Linked DNA regions of Homo sapiens: region 2 is linked to region 1. The links are contacts of gene promoters, found by promoter capture Hi-C in blood cells and fetal thymus (Javierre and others, 2016). All regions are on one chromosome and are shown on one strand. The core of a region is centred on a gene start or on the middle of the fragment in contact, and the rest is flanking DNA. Distances in the headings are between cores, read along the strand shown. Region 1 holds the start of TNR (tenascin R). Region 2 overlaps TNR (tenascin R).

The links. The method cuts DNA at HindIII sites, captures the fragments that hold promoters and counts their contacts. A CHiCAGO score of 5 or more calls a contact.
Region 2: a fragment that was not itself captured here is called in contact with the fragment with the promoter of TNR in region 1 in 3 of 17 cell types (naive B cells, total B cells and endothelial precursors); the score reaches 8.3 in naive B cells.

The regions. Positions count from the first base shown.
Region 1 is chr1:175,742,238-175,744,938 of GRCh38, reverse strand. It overlaps TNR (tenascin R), which reads left to right and starts at 1,344. Exons shown (of 23, transcript NM_003285.3): 1 at 1,344-1,713. The HindIII fragment of the contact is 6,381 bases long and covers 1,003-2,701 here.
Region 2 is chr1:175,451,422-175,454,280 of GRCh38, reverse strand. The region is part of intron 2 of TNR (tenascin R); the gene reads left to right. Among named protein-coding and RNA genes, the nearest start is that of KIAA0040, 260 kb to the right of the region's middle. The HindIII fragment of the contact is 4,322 bases long and covers 1-2,859 here.

The DNA of each region.
Region 1 (2,701 bases), core at 95-2,594:
TATCTTCTATTTACTTCAAATGTCACTCCTGAAGTGTACATTTATAGAACATGGTAATTCAATGAGGAAGCTCCAGGGTCAGATGGCTCAGGTTCCATTACCATCCCTGACACTCACTAGTTGTGTGATCTTTGGAAAGTTATTTCATTCCTCTGTTACTCAGTTCCCAGTCTATAGAGTAGCAATAATAGCCTCTGCATTATAGAGTTATTGTATGGCTTAAATGAGCTAATACATGTAAGGGCTTATAACAGTGCCTAGCACCTGGTATAAACACTCTATAAATGTTAGCTATTGTTATTTGCCAGGAGTGAATCAAATATAAGAAGAGTGTTTGTATAAGATTACCTTTAAATTCCCTGCCAATCCTGAGGTTCTATGTTTCTATATCATTCCAGTCCCTTAGCATTCCTATTCAGTAGGGAGGGGGCAGCATTATCCACATTTTACAAACAGTAAAATTGAGCCATAGAGAAGCAAAATGTCCAGTAAGCAAGTGGCAGTCTGAAACCAGGACTCAGATTTTTAGATGTAAGTATTAGGACTCTTTCCGGGAGGCTGTGTGGCTGTACATTTAAAAGAGAATGTTAGATATCCCTTATGAGCCTATGAGCAGTGACCCCTTGATGCCCCTTCTCTGCCAAGGTTCTCCATAAATGTGCATCAAGGTCACTTCTGTCTCTACTTCTGAGATGATCTCAGGCCATATCTTTTCAGATATTTTTCTTACTAGCTTTACAAAAAAGCTATATTGTGGAGTTGGATGAAGGGCCAGCTCCCTGTATCCTCTGCCTCTTTAGGCATTCCCATGCCTGGGTTGTGCTACGTATACACATACTTCACCTGGCTGCAGACGCTGACTTTTTGGAGGGTTCCTTCTGCTGAGCCCGGACCTCAAACCACTTGAGAACCCCACAACTGACCTTATTCCAAAACATTCTATCCCAACCCATTCCACCCTGGATTTCTCCTTCAATCATGGGCAAAGGATCTGCAAAAGCTTCCATCCTCTCCCTTTCTCTTCTTATCTGGGTTGGTCAGAGGGAAGCCTCTATCTTCTTCAGGACCCTGCCTATGCAGAGGCAGCTCCAAGAGTTGGGTGCGGGGAGTATTTCTGTGCCTGAATCTGGACTGTTCAAGAGGATTTAGGATGCTTTTCTTTTCTGTCCACTAGGGGGCTGCTTGTAGGGGGATGGAAAAAACGGAGGCTTAAAAAAATCATGCTGCTGAAATTTCAGCAAGAGGGGAAAAGAGAGAGCGCGTGAGAGAGAGAGAGAGAGAGAGAGAGAGAGAGAGAGAGAGAGAGAGACAGCAAAGCAGTCCCAGGCTTCCTCCTCTCTTTCACGTCAGAGGCAGGAACCGACTGTGCTAAGGCTGTTGGCTCAACACCCAGAGGAGACGGGCAGACCCAGGGAGAGTGAGAGAAGGGGGTCCTCTCTGACCCAAGGAATTACCACTAGTGGAGTGAAGCCACCTGACTTTTTGATCTTATTTTGGTTGCCTCCTCATTCTCCTTCCACCCGTAGCCCTGACAGCTTGGGTTTCATTTCTTTCGTGGAGCCTTGTCTCTTCCTCCCAGAATAGGAGGAAGGGAAGAGAAGGGAAAGAGGAGGGCTCTCTAGGTGAGCGCATCAGCTGGCTCCAGCCTGAGCAAGCAAGAATTTTCTTCCCAGGAAGCTCCTCTCGCTCCCCGGCCGCCCACCCCCAGCCTGGGTAAGTCCAGAGCACTCGCTCCTTTGATTTTCTGGCTAACGTGATTTCAGCACCAAGGAGAGCTATGAGATGCATTTTGGTTCCTGTGTATCTGTGTGTTCTGCAAGGCATTTGGCACTAGGGTTACATCTATTTCTCTGCTGCCAGTAGAGTCGGGTTCTGCGTAGGGAAAAGAAAGGCGCAAAACTATGTTTACCGAATTAAAGGGGGATTGGACTCTGGCCTTGCGGGTGTGTGTGTGTGTGTGTGTGTGTGTGTGTGTACTGTTGCATAAGACAGGTGAGGTCTGAGCTAAATTGCGGGTGGTTTCTGCGTGTCTCCATGTAAGGCTGTTCTTTTTGTCTGTAGATAAGCGAGATGGTTTGGGGAATTAGTCGTGCACCTTCTTTAACTCTCTCCCGACAAGCCATCCATGGTGGGAAAGAGTTGCAAAGGAAGCCTGGGGGGTTGGGAGTGGAGGTAGAGTTAAAAGTTACGCACCTCTGAGAGAGCTTTAAAGAGGTGCTTTGTAAAATGTCAGTTTCCTAGTATTCTCTGGGCTCTTGCTGTGGAGAGAGCCCAACCTGACCTTTTACTTTCTCTTCTGGTGTGAACCCATGGTAAGTGGGCAGGTGCAACAGGTGAAGCTCAGGCTGGGGCGGCTTTGGGGGGTTGAGGTCCCTTCTGACTTCATGGTGGTAGGAAAGTGCTAGTGTCTTGAGCTTTGCAGAGACTGGCTGGTGTGGGTTATATTACATTTGCAAGGAGGCAGGAGGTACCCTCCACTTTTATGCCATCTTTGGCTATGGGTGGTTGGAAAGAAGACAAAGTCTGTTCTGCCCTGTTTTCTGGGGCATTTGGCAGTGAAAAACAACTAAGAATAAAGGTTTGTCTCTATATGTCTAGGGTGAGCAGAAACAAAATTAGACTTGTCCCAGACTCAGGAGGGCTTGAAGTGGTACTCTGTTCTCCTCCAGCACTGAGAGGCTCTGCAAACAGGAGCTCATTA
Region 2 (2,859 bases), core at 169-2,668, 290 kb after region 1:
GAACATTCTCTGGCCTCTGCCTGTAATCTGGATGAATGATTCTAACAATGGGAATTTCACACACTGTGGCAAGAAGCGTGGAAGACATTTAGGAGCATGGGAGATGTTTTGGATAGAGCTCTGTCTACTAAAACCCTTTTAACAACCCCAAGAGACAGACAACTAGACCAACCCCAACAGACAGACAACCAGACCCATTTAGAAGATGGAGAAACTGAGGAACTGTTGAGTGGCTGCAACAGTACTAGGCCTAAGCACATCTTCCTTTGCCTGTGAGGACAGCAGGGCCCCATCTCTGGAAAAAATTCACCCTGTCCACCCCTTTCTCACCACCTGGCTGACCTTTTCATAAAGGTGAAATATGGCTAAAATGAAAATGTTTCACCCTTGATTTAAAAAAATAAAAACAGCCAGGCACAGTGGCTCATGACTGTAACACCAGCACTTTGAGAGGCCAAGGCAGGAGGCTCACTTGAAGCCAGGAATTCGAGACCAGACTGGACAACAAAGCGAGACATAGTCTCTAAAAAAAACTTTTTTAATTAGCCAGGTGTGGTGGTGCATGCCTGTAGTCCCAGCTACTTGGGAGGCTGAGGTAGGAGGATCACTGGAGCCCAGGAGGAGCACAGGAGCTCAAGGCTGTGGTAAGCTATAATCACGCCACAGCACTCCAGCCTGGATGACAGAGAGATGCCTTGTCTCTGAAAAATAATAATAATAAAATAATAAATAAATAATTAAAGTTTAAAAACCAAAAAACTGCAAGTTAGAAACCTAAGCTCACATCATGGCCCTTTGCAGAAACCTGTGTGTCCCCAGAGAGGTCCCCTCCCCTCTCCGGGCTCATCTTTGTGATCTAGTACCTGGCAGTCTGTGACTCAGTTGCTTCCCTTCCACATCTAACTTTCTATGGCTCCAGGGGACAGACCATAAACTTCTCTTTCCCTCAGCCCTCACACCTGGCTCAGCATCAAGTCTGGCTCAGCTTTATTTCCAAAACACGTCACCAATCATCCGGATGAGGCATTAGTGGGAGTTTCTGCCCTATTCTTGCAACTTTTCTGTAAGTATCGTTTTCATCCTTTCCTTTGTCTCTCTAGATTCTCCACACAGAAGGCAGGGTTGTCTTTGGTTCTCTTTTGTCTTTTGTTTTGGTAAGAGATATATAAAAATAGATACCATTTTAACAATTTTAAGTGTATAATTCACTGGCATTAACTATATTCACATTGTTGTACCACCGTGACCACCATCTGTCTCCAGAACTTTTCCATCATGCTGGCTGCATCTCTGCATCCATTACACGGTAACTCCCGCTGCCCCCTGTCTGAAGGGCTTCTCTCCCTCCACATAATGACTTCACGGTTCATCCATGTTGTAGCATGTGTCAGAATCTCCTTCCTTTTTAAGACTGAATAGTATGCTATGGTATATATATGCCACATTTTGTTTTTCCATTTATCCCTCAATGGACATTTGAGCTTTTTCCACCTTTTGGCTATTGTGAATCATGCTGCTACAAACAGTAGTGTGCAGGGTCATCCTTTAAAAATACAAATCAGTTCCCGTCACTCTTTACTCCCTTACAGTTCTTCCAAACTTCACAATTTAAACTCTTTTCCCTCATCCACTAGGCCCCACAGGTCCCAGCTTCTGTCACCTTTGTCCCCCCAACTTCCCAGGCTACAGCCATGTGAGCCTCTGCCCAGCTCTCACACACCCAAAGCATGGCCTGGGAGGGCCTTTGCACCAAATCTTCCCCAGGCCTGAGTGTGGCCAGCTCCTTCTCTCCATCCAGGTCTCTGCTGAAATCCCTCCTCCTCCGACAGCCGTCCCCCCGTCCACCTGGGTTGCAGCAGCCCCCTGTGCCCATGCAGTCCCCAGGCCCTGTTTCCAGGGTTTATTTTCTTTGTAAAAGTTACAGCCCTGATATCCTATCACATTACTCTTGTGTATTGTCATTTCCCCCGCTAGACTTTCGAGCAGGGCGCTTTGTTCACTGCTGAGCCTCAGAGCCCAGAACAGTGCCTGCACACAGGAGGCATTCCCAATGCTTGTGGGATTCCTTAAGTCTGAATATCTGATTTGACCATCCAGAGTGAAAGTGTAGCAGAATAGAGGGGTCCTGGGACCTCAAAGGAAGCTGACAGAAGGGAGGCACCGGTGCACGATGCTGGTCCCCATTACATTCTCACCTCAGCTGCTAACTTCTGCTTCCTCTCTTTTGGCTGCTGCGTTGGTTGCCCCTGAGTGGGAGCCTGGGACAGAGAAACATGTGGCATGGCACAGCACACTTGACATAATACCCAAAGCACATGTCCACTCTCAGCCACGTCAGGCTTTGTATTCCCAGAGAGCTCAGAGATGACAGGTAAGACCTGGCTGGGTACAACCAGAGCAATTCGTTATAGAAGTACAGCCAAGTCACTGAACCATATAACATATAAGGAGAGAACGCATTAGTCTGTGTCTCTCCAACGTTCAAAATGCTAAGTCATTTTTCAGGCTTGGCTTGATTTCTCTTTCATCAGTAAGAGCTACAATCCTGCCAAGCTGGGAGCAGATAGCTCTACCTGCTGCTGAGATAGACGGGCTCCATAAAGGGCTGAGGGAATGCCAGCCGCCGCACTACTTTCAGCAGGTTCCACATGTCTGCTCCTCTGGGACGGCGTATCCAAAAGTGTCTCCCCAATCCTAGTCCCACAGTGACAAAATCCCCTATTGGAGAGATGTAACTGAGGCTTCCCCTGCAGGAAGCCACATGGCATGGCAGAGCACCAGACTGGAGGCCTGGAGGCTGGCGGCTGGCTTCTAGATCACCCCTCTTACTAACCAGGTGCCTTACAATGAGAACACTTG